2 separate regions of the Homo sapiens genome follow, and region 1 is linked to region 2. Evidence: promoter capture Hi-C in human tissues and cell types (Jung and others, 2019). All regions are on one chromosome and are shown on one strand. Each heading gives the region's core, a stretch centred on a gene start or on the middle of the fragment in contact. The rest is flanking DNA. Distances are from core to core; before and after follow the strand shown. Region 1 has its middle 49 kb from the start of GNG13. Region 2 holds the start of METRN (meteorin, glial cell differentiation regulator).

The links. Contacts are between HindIII fragments. The study calls those that stand out against the background at their distance.
Region 1: a fragment that was not itself captured here is called in contact with the fragment with the promoter of METRN in region 2 in 4 of the 25 tissues and cell types used here (dorsolateral prefrontal cortex, lymphoblastoid cells, mesendoderm cells and 1 more).

Annotation. Positions count from the first base shown.
Region 1 is chr16:846,891-851,868 of GRCh38, forward strand. No RefSeq gene overlaps it. Among named protein-coding and RNA genes, the nearest start is that of GNG13, 49 kb to the left of the region's middle. The HindIII fragment of the contact is 6,946 bases long and covers 1-4,978 here.
Region 2 is chr16:711,034-716,496 of GRCh38, forward strand. METRN (meteorin, glial cell differentiation regulator) reads left to right here and starts at 4,085. Exons shown (of 4, transcript NM_024042.4): 1 at 4,085-4,360; 2 at 4,551-4,951. The coding sequence starts at 4,257. RefSeq lists silencers at 827-956, 3,844-4,153, 4,254-4,683, 4,784-4,843 and enhancers at 3,101-3,699, 4,298-4,895, 4,896-5,463. The HindIII fragment of the contact is 3,141 bases long and covers 1,697-4,837 here.

The DNA.
Region 1 (4,978 bases), core at 1,215-3,714, 130 kb after region 2:
TAATGCGTCCCGGTTTCCTGTAACCCGTGTGTGTCCCGTGTCTGTAATGCGTCCCGGTTTCCTGTAACCCGTGTGTGTCCCGTGTCTGTAATGGGTCCCGGTTTCCTGTAACCCGTGTGTGTCCCGTGTCTGTAATGTGTCCCGGTTTCCTGTAACCCGTGTGTGTCCCGTGTCTGTAATGGGTCCCGGTTTCCTGTAACCCGTGTGTGTCCCGTGTCTGTAATGTGTCCCGGTTTCCTGTAACCCGTGTGTGTCCCGTGTCTGTAATGGGTCCTGGTTTCCTGTAAAGCTGTGTGTGTCCCGTGTCTGTAATGTGTCCCGGTTTCCTGTAAACCCGTGTGTGTCCCGTGTCTGTAATGTGTCGCGGTTTCCTGTAAACCCCTGTGTGTCCCATATCATCTGGACTAGGTACCTTCTCCCAGCGGCCCGGGGTGCTGACCTGGCTCAGTGCCTCTTCTTTCCTTTGCTGAGTGTTCTTTCCTCTTTTTTGTTGTTCAGATGAGAGTCTGTTGATGTTCCTCCAGCATGTCCACATGGCTGCGGGTGAAGGGCTTCACAGTAGCCCACCGTGGGCAGGTGTTTAAGGAACAACTTCCAGGTTAGGAAAAAGATGAGGCAGAGGAGATGGCCCCACCTGCCACCCAAGAGAAAAAGAGGCTCAGGGAGGGGAGGAAAGGATGTTGCGGCCCGCCATCTGTCTGCACACCAACCGTCAGAGCTGACGGAAGCTTTCGCCAACTTGCTTCCAGCAATGGGCCAACGACAATCAAGGCGGCTATGACGGCCAGTCCAGGGCTGGTTTGAAAGCTGTAACAGTTTGGACAGTGTGGTATGACCTGGGCAGGTATAGATCACACTGGGTCAGGTGTAAACCCTAGAACGGTGAGCCACCAACCCAGACTCAGCGGGTCAGCTGCGGCCCCTGGCCAGGCGGCCCAGGCAAAGTAAGGTGGCCGCAGCCCTGCAGGGAGGGTGGCACTGTCCGCAAACCCTCCCGGTGCCCCGGGTTCCCCAATGCGCTCAGACCTGGGGGTGGGCACGGAGGCCCCCCAGCCTTCCCCTGCCTAGTGCCTGGGGTGCTTCTTCCCAGCGCCTGGAGGTTTCCATCCCTCCCGCACACAGCGCTTGGAGCAAGATGGGAGGGAGGTGCCTGCTTGCTGCCTCCTGCTGGTGTGTGGGAGCCCAGGTGAACACTGGGTGGTGCGGAAAGCCACCAGCGTGATGTGGGAAGGCCATTTGCTAAGCGCCAGGTGGGCCCGGGTGTGGGCTGGGTGGGCAGCCTGGCTCGCGGCGTAAGGGGCAAGCTATCCAGGCAGCAGTGGGCTGAGAATTGCCGGCATCACCTGTCATTTGCTCGCGTGGTCCTCAGTGAATCAAAGTTTGCATGTCCGTGACTGCGGCCATCATCAGAGCTTGTGGGACCACTGGTGGCTCCGTACGGCACTTTCGGGTTAACCAGCATCCAGGTGCACTGAGCCTTGGTCTTAAGCGGCTCCAGCCCCATGCACGCCACAGAGAAGGAGTGAAGCGCGTTCCCTGCCCGGCATCCTGAGCCCCACTGGACCTTCTGGCAGGGTGAGGGTCTGGGCCCTGAGGCAGGGAGGCCCAGGGTCTCAGGACGCTTAAGACACTCTGCTTTGCTTTGCTGTATTTCAAAACATTGAGGTGAAGTTGACATTTACATAAAATTAACCACTTAAAGGTCAGCAGTGTGGTGCACGTAACACATTGGCCACACGCACAACCAGCATCTCTGCCTAATTCCAGATATTTTCATCACCCGCCAGAGAACCTTCTGGACCTGTGAGCCGTCATGCCCGCTCTCCCTGTTCCTGCCAGCAGCCCCGAGAGCCGTCCACCTTCTCCCTGCCCAGCGTCTCTGTGGGTTTCCCTGTTCTGGACATTCCAGAGACGGCATCGCAGGACCGGTGCCCTCTGTGTCTGGCGGGTTCACTGGGCATCAGGTTCTCAAGGCTCATCTGAGCGTCGGGGCCTCGCTCCTCTTTGCGGCTGCGTAATGCTCATGGGTGAGCACACCTGGTCTGTTCATCTGGGCTGTCCCCACCTCTGGGCTGCTGCAAACGTTCCGGTGCAAGCACACCCAGGTCCCCGTTTCCCGCTCTCCCGGGTCTACATGCAGATGTGGAGTTGCGGGGTCACGTGGTTCCCGTTTCTAGCTCTCCCAGGTCTACGTGCAGACGTGGAGTTGCGGGGTCACGTGGTCCCCGTTTCTAGCTCTCCCGGGTCTCCGTGCAGACGTGGAGTTGCGGGGTCACGTGGTCGCCGTTTCTAGCTCTCCCGGGTCTACGTGCAGACGTGGAGTTGCGGGGTCATGTGGTCATCCGTCTACACTGAACATTTCGAGGAACCCCCAGACAGTCTCCACGTGGCCACATCATTCTGATGCATGGCAGACGAGCCCGAAAGAGGAGCTTAGTCCCAGAGGGTTCTTGGCTTTGCCCAGGAAAGAATTCAAGGTCGAGCCAGAGGTGGAAGGAAACAGCTTTACTTCAGAGGTGGGGTTACAGCTGTGGCTGCTCCCGCAGGGCAGGGCTTCCACAGACAGCAGCCCGGGGCAGCTCTGCAGTCTCACTTATAGCCACAGTTTTTTTTTTTAAAGACAGAATATTACTCTATTGCCCAGGCTGGAGTGCAGTGGTACGGTCTCAGCTCACTGCAACATCTGCCTCCCGGGTTCAAGCGATTCTTCTGCCTCAGCCTCCCGAGTAGCTGGGACTACAGGTGCCTGCCACGCCAGGCTAATTTTTGTATTTTTGGCACAGACGGGGTTTCACTATGTTGGCCAGGCTGGTCTCAAACTCCTGACTTCAGGTGATCCGCCTGCCTTGGCCTCCCAAAGTGCTGGGATTACAGGTGTGAGCCACTGTACCCGGCCAGAAATGTCAAATTTTGATGAAGTCCAATTTATTTTCTGTGTTGTTGCCGGTGCTGTTGTTGTCATATCCAAGAAAACACTGCCAAATCCAATGTCCTTAAGATTTTCCCAGGTTTTATTCTGAGTCTTACAGTTTTAGCTCTTACATTTAGGTGTTTCATCCTATGTTTTTTGGGTTAATTTTTGTGTATGCTGTTAGGTAAGGGGCCAGCTTCATTCATTATTTTGCATGTGGAGATAAAGCTTTCCCAGTACCATTTGCTGAAAAGGCTGTCCTCTTCCCATTGAATGGTCTCAGAGCCTTTGTCGGAAGGTACCAGGCCACGTGTGGGACAATTTCTTGGGTCATTCTCATCGGAAGGTACCTGGTTGTTCTCGTTGGAAGGTGCCTGGTTGTTCTTGTCGGAAGACACCTGGTTGTCCTCGTTGGAAGGTACCTGGCTGCGTGTGGGACGATTTCTTGGGTCGTTGTTGTCAGAAGGTACCTGGTTGCATGTGTGGAATGATTTCTCGGGTTGTTCTCATCGGAAGGTACCTGGTTGTTCTCATCGGAAGGTACTGGTTGTTCTCGTTGGAAGGTATGTGGCCGTGTGTGGGATGATTTCTCGGGTTGTTCTCATTGGAAGGTACGTGGCTGCATGTGGGACAATTTCTCGGGTCATTTTCGTCGGAAGGTACCTGGTTGTTCTTGTCGGAAGGTACCTGGTCGTTCTCGTTGGACGGTACCTGGCCGCGTGGGGGATGATTTCTGTGGTTGTTGTTGTCAGAAGGTACCTGGTTGCATGTGTGGAATGATTTCTCGGGTTGTTCTTGTCGGAAGGTACCTAGTTCTCGTCGGAAGGTATGTGGCCGTGTGTGGGATGATTTCTCGGGTTGTTGTCATTGGAAGGTACGTGGCTGCGTGTGGGACGATTTCTCGGGCTGTTCTCGTCAGAGGTACCTGGCCGCATGCGTGGGACGATTTCTCAGGTTGTTCTCATTGGAAGGTACCTGGCCACGTGTGTGGGACGATTTATTGGGTTGTTCTCGTCGGATGGTACTTGGCCACATGTGGGACGATTTCTCTGGCCGTTCTCGTCAGAAGGTACCTAGCCGTGTGTAGGACGATTTCTCGGGTTCTTGTCGGACGGTACCTGGCCGCATGTGGGATGATTTCTCGGGTTGTTCTCATCGGACAGTACCTGGCCGTGTGTGTGGGACGATTTCTCGTGTTGTTCTCATTGGGCGGTACCTGGCCGCATGTGGGACGATTTCTCGGGTGGTTACTGTGCCCCGTTTATCTCTAGGTCTCCATGCTGCTGTGATACTGTTTTGACGAGGGAGCTTTCTTTTCTGCCACTGTGGGCCAGCTGCTGCCGTCTGTGGTATTCTTGTGTGTTGCTGATCTGAAGCTCCAAAGCTGCCATTCTCCCAAACCTTCCTGCTCAGATGAGGACCTGGGCAGTCTGAGACCTCCAAGCTGCAGTGAGAATGGCTGAGGGCCTGACCCAGCCAGGGAGGCTGCTCTGGGGACTCCAGGGTGCCTCTCCCTTCCCCCAGGCCCACAGTTGACCCAGCAGACCCACACTGAGGGCCTGGTGCGGGACTGGGGCAGCTTAGTGTCAGGGCGCAGAGCAGGCCCTGGAGAGCCAGGGGGTTGCCGTGTGGGCGCTGGCACTGGTTGCTAGTGTAAAGGCCCCACGGCCCTGACCACACAGGGACCCCAGACGTTTGGGGGAGATGGGCTCAGTGTGGTGAGGCCTTGGGACTATCTGCCAAAGACAGATGAGGTGAGGGGAACCCAGCCTTGGAAGGGTCAGGTGTGACAGACTCTGGGTCTGCAGAGGGTGCAGGCTCCACTCCAGCCGAGGCTGTCACAACCCGACCTCAGGTCACCTGTCCGCCCCAGGTGAGTGGACGTCTCTGGGAACCTGGATCCAGAGACTGGACCCCCACCATTAGGGCTCCTCTGCCTGCCAGCTGAGGGGGTCTCCCTGAGCAGGGCTGGACACTCACGGGTCAGAGCCAAGGGCTCCATGGAGTGGGCCCTCGAGGCCCCCAGCTGGGTCCAGGGGCCCCCCTATTTTTGTGACCTTGGTGGGG
Region 2 (5,463 bases), core at 2,835-5,334:
AGCTCCAAGGGCCCTCTGGGCAAGACAGGAACAGAAACCAAGTCTCAGGCTTCGGGACAAGCTGTGAGGCTGGCCGCCCTGCCTTGGGCTGAGGGGCCTTGTGATATGGCGTCTGTGTTTGGCCACGGCCAGGCTGACCCGCAGGCGGGAGAGATGATTGTCCCAGACTCTGCACTCTCCAGGGGTGGCCTCACGCGCTAGGCCCAAGGTTTCTGAAACAAAGCCTCAGGGAAGTTCTTCCTTTTGTCTGACTTGAGTATGTCTTGCTGCTGTCGCGTTCTGACTTGGGTGGAAATGGAGAGAGGCCCCTTCTGGGGTTTCAGGGCACTCAAGGGTCTGGGGCTTGGGGCACTTGAGGGGGCCCCCAAACAGCACAGACAGCCACGGCATCACCTAAGCTTGGGGATGCCTTCCAGGCACTCCTCCGCCCAGCCACCCCCCACTTAGTCTGCTGGTATTTACTGAGCACCAGCACCCTGGCAAGTCGGGTCCTGTACCCATAGCAACTGAGGACAGACTCGGCCTTCCAGGCCCCTCCTGTAGGCAGCACAGCACTCACTGATGCCAGGTGCTTTCCTGGGTGGGGCCGGGGGCTGTGAGGAAAAGGGGTGTGTGTCCAGGGCTTCTCCTGTGGGTGGCTGCATTGGCACCGGATCCCCGGAGATGAGGCTGGGGAGGAGGCAGGGACGCCCGGGGTTGAGGCGTCAACTCGGGGCCAGGCATGTGCCATTCCAGACCAGGTCACCCCAGGAACCCCTCCCTCCAACCACAGACACTGGCCCCTCTCTGGAGGAGGCCTGGGGAGAAGTCCGGGGCCCAGGCTGTCAGGAGGGTGTCTGGGGCTGACCCTCACGCCGCCACCAGAGGGCGCCTGGAGCCCACCGTGCTGACCCGGGGACCGCCAAGCGGCAGCAGCCCTGGACGGCTGGGTGGCTGCAGCGGCCGACCCGTGTGCCTCTCCCCACCTCTGCGAGCACCTCATGTGCTCAGCCCCAGGCCGAGTCTACCCTTTAACCTTTACGATTTTTATATTTTATTTATTTATTTTTTAATTTTTATTGAGACAGGGTCTCTTCTGTCGCCCTGGTTGGAGTGCAGTGGTGCAATCACAGCTCACTGCAGCCTCACCCTCCTGGGCTTAAGCAATCCTCCTGCCACAGCCTCCCAAAGTGCTAAGACTACATGCATGAGCTGCTGCACCCAGCTAATTTTTGTAGTTTTAGTGGAGTTGGGGTTTCAACATGTTGGCCAGGCTGGTCTTGAACTCCTGATGTCAAGCGATCATCCTGCCTCAGCCTCCCAAAGTGCTGAGATTACAGGCAGGAGCTGCCACACCCGGCCTTAATTTTTATGTAATTAATTAATTAATTTTTATGAGACAGACTCTCACTCTGTCACCCAGGCTGGAGTGCAGTGGCCTGATCTCAGCTCACTGCAACCTCCACCTCCCGGGTTCAAGCGGTTCTCCTGTCTCAGCCTCCCAAGTAGCTAGGACTGCAGGCGTGCGCCACCACGTCCAGCTAATTTTTGTATTTTTAGTAGAGATGGGGTTTCACCATGTTGGCCAGGCTGGTCTCGAACTCCCGACCTTGTGATCTCCCTGCCTTGGCCTCCCAAACTGCTGAAATTACAGGTGGGAGCCGCTGCGCCTTGACAATTTTTATTTTTAATTGTAAGATATACATCATAACATCTACCATTTTACCCATTTTAAAGTGTGCAGTTCCGTACTGTTGAGTACATTTGTGTTGTGTAATCAAGCTCCTGAATTCTGTCCCCATTAAGCTCCAATCCCTCATTCCCCTCCCCAGCCCCTGCTCCACTTTCTGTCCTCATGACCGTGACTACTCTAAGGTGACTCACAGAAGTGGAATCCAACAGTGTTTGTCCTTTTGTCTCTGGCTTATTTTGCTCAGCGCATAAGCCTCCAGGCTCATCCAGGCTGTAGCGGGTGTCAAGGGACCAGAACTTCATTCCTTTTTATGGCTTAATAATGGACCCACCGCCAGGGGGTGCCGTGGCTCATGCCTGTAATCCCAACACTTTGGGAGGCTGAGGTGGGCGGATCACCTGAGGTCGGGAGTTCAAGACCAGCCTGACCAGCATGGAGAAACCTCGTCTCTACTAAAAATACAAAATTAGCCGGCATGATGGCACATGCCTGTAATCCCAGCTGCTCGGGAGGCTGACGCAGGAGAATCGCTTGAACCCAGGAGGTGGAGGTTGCAGTGAGCCAAGATCGCGCCATTGCACTCCAGACTGGGCAAAGAGCGAAACTCCATCTCAAAAAAAAAAAAAAAAAAAAAAAAAAAAAAGAGGCCGGGCGCGGTGGCTCACATCTGTAATCCCAGCACTTTGGGAGGCCAAGGCGGGCAGATCACGAGGTCAGGAGATCGAGACCATCCTGGCTAACACGGTGAAACACCCTCTCTACTAAAAAAAGAAAAAATACAAAAATTTAGCCGGGTGTGGTGGCGGGCGCCTGTAGTCTCAGCTGCTCGGGAGGCTGAGGCAGGAGAATGGCATGAACCCAGGAGGCAGAGGTTGCAGTGAGCCGAGATCGAGCCACTGCACTCCAGCCTGGGCGACAGAACGAGATTCCGTCTCAAAAAAAAAAAAAAAAATGGACCCACTGCACTTGCTTGTCCACTCAGCTGCAGACAGGCCTTTGGGAGTCTTCCACCTTTTGGGGATTGTGATGGCTACTTCTGACCTGCACCTCGCCCAGAGCAAGGGGCTGGCCGAGCCCAGTAGGCGCCTTGTTCCTGTTTGGCCTGGGAGGGCCCTGGGGTTGAGGGAGGGCCTGGTCAGTGGGATCCAGCCTCCCACTGCCACTGAGCCATCTGGCCTCATCTGTCCGACTGCCACTGGTGAACTCATCTGTCCACCATGAGTTTCGAGCGCCGGGTGGCAGGAGGTTTGGGGGCAGGGGACGGAATGTTCACATCTTCAGGCTGCACAGTCTATGCTGGTCCTTGCAGTCCCCGGCTAAAGCTTCTGTCGTCCGTAAGGGGTTCAGTATGTAGTGGGACCCCTTTGCTTGTGCCTTAGGCCTTCTGTGATCTGACCTGTCGTCCCCACCCACCACCCATGCCCTGGGGTTTCACTGGGCTGCCAAGAGCTCCTTCCTCAGGCCCTTGACCCAGGCTGTCTGCTCTCCCCCATTCTCTTCCTGTCCACCTGGCCAGCCACTGCCCACTTCCTCCCATCAGGCCAACTCAGCAGTCCCGGATGCTGGGAATCCCACACTGCTCCAGCCTGAGGCTACAGTGTGTTTGCGAATCGCCTGTTTCTGCTTGTTTCATCTTGGTGGGGGCTGCTCCTGTGGCCCAGGGGTGTCCTCCCAGCTCCTGTGTCTCCACGTGCTGCAGGCCTGCAGGGGTGCCCGTGGCTGCTCCATTCACGCCCCTCCAGGAGCCCCGTCTGGCCCGGGGTCGGTCATCCGGCAACTATGGGGTGCCGCTAGGTCTGAGGAAAGGGGCCTAAGCCTGCGGGCTGCGCGCTCTTCAGCAGGACCCCCTCCTGCAGACGGCCTTACCAAAACCCGAGGCCTGGCCCCGCTCCAAGGCGCAGCCCCCAGGCCAGGCCTTCCCCGCCTCTGGAGTCATGACCCCTCTCCTCTGGGGCTCCACCGGCCTCTGGTCAGCAGGACCGGACCTGGTTGGGAGGGATGTGGCCAACAGGCCCAGGTCCCAGTGTTAGGAAGGAGCAGGCCCGGCCGCCCGCGAGGCGGAACCACCAGGTGGGCCACCTTCCCTACCGCCACCCCGAGGTTCCAGTGGACATCAAAACCTCGGCTCCATCAGAGGCTCCAGGACTCCGATCGGGACAGCGCGGGGGGCGAGGCCAGGGTGAGGGCGCGGCGAAGGAGAGACGCACAGCGCGGGGCGGGCAAGGAGCCTCCCTTCCGCGCCAAGGCCCCCCCCAACCCTCGAGGCGCTTGGACCGTGGGATAGTCCTCCGGCGGCGCCCGAGCTCCGGCCCCGCCCCCGCTCCGCCCCGCGCCTGCTATTGGCGGAAAGTTCCGGGCCGCGCCGCGACTGGCCGACACGCCGCAGGCCCCGCCCCCTTCCCGACCCGCTCCAAGGCGGCCCCGGCGCTGGGGCTGCGCGGCAGGCGGAGCGGCCGCGGGCTTGGGGGCTTCGCCGGGGCCGGGCGGCCGGCGCCCCCGGCTGCTCCCGCCGCCGCCCGGACCCGCGCCCCGCCGGGGCAGCGGTGGTGAGAGCCCCGACTCCCCGGACGCCGCCCGCCGTGCCATGGGGTTCCCGGCCGCGGCGCTGCTCTGCGCGCTGTGCTGCGGCCTCCTGGCCCCGGCTGCCCGCGCCGGCTACTCCGAGGAGCGCTGCAGCTGGAGGGGCAGGTACGGTCCGGGGGGCTGTCCCCGCACTTAGGACGGGGTGCGCTGCGGCTAGGACCCCCCAGGCGCCCCTCGGAGCGCGCAGAGCGCTGGGCCGGTTTCCCCATCCGCGAGGCGGCCTCGGGAGGGAGCGGGGGCTGCGCCGGGCGGGGACCCGCCCCCGTCTCAGCGCCCCGTCCCGTCCTGTCCCCAGCGGCCTCACCCAGGAGCCCGGCAGCGTGGGGCAGCTGGCCCTGGCCTGTGCGGAGGGCGCGGTTGAGTGGCTGTACCCGGCTGGGGCGCTGCGCCTGACCCTGGGCGGCCCCGATCCCAGAGCGCGGCCCGGCATCGCCTGTCTGCGGCCGGTGCGGCCCTTCGCGGGCGCCCAGGTCTTCGCGGAGCGCGCAGGGGGCGCCCTGGAGCTGCTGCTGGCCGAGGGCCCGGGCCCGGCAGGGGGCCGCTGCGTGCGCTGGGGTCCCCGCGAGCGCCGGGCCCTCTTCCTGCAGGCCACGCCGCACCAGGACATCAGCCGCCGCGTGGCCGCCTTCCGCTTTGAGCTGCGCGAGGACGGGCGCCCCGAGCTGCCCCCGCAGGCCCACGGTCTCGGCGTAGACGGTGAGTGGCGGTCTGGTTGGGACAGGGTGGGAGTCCCGAAGTCTTACCCTGCCTGGGCTTGGCGGGAATGTGCCTTGTCGGCCCCACTGCAGAAGGAAAAAGTGAGCTACAAGGGTTGGATGGGCTTGTCAGGCCACACAGCCTGGGACTGCTGGGGAGGGATGGCCTCCCCGCCCTCCCTTCCCGATTCATCTCTGGAAAGAGCTGGCAGGGGCAGAGTGGAGGGAAGGGGAGGCCGGGCCCAGCAATCCTGGGCCTCTGGTCCCTGAACGGTTGGGGGAAGAGATGGTGGGGACAGAATCGAAGCCTCCGGCCAAAGCTGTCCGGGGCTCCCTGGCCCAGCGGTGACCTCTCTCCCCTCCCCCAGCCCAACCAACAAAAGTCCAGTGTGCAGCCCGGTCACCATGGAGACGCCGCTCGCCTCCCTGCAGGGCACCAGGCCCAGCTCTTGCTTGGCTCTCCTGGAGCTTGGCGCCTGACCCTGAAAGGGATGGGCTCTCGCTATTCTGCCC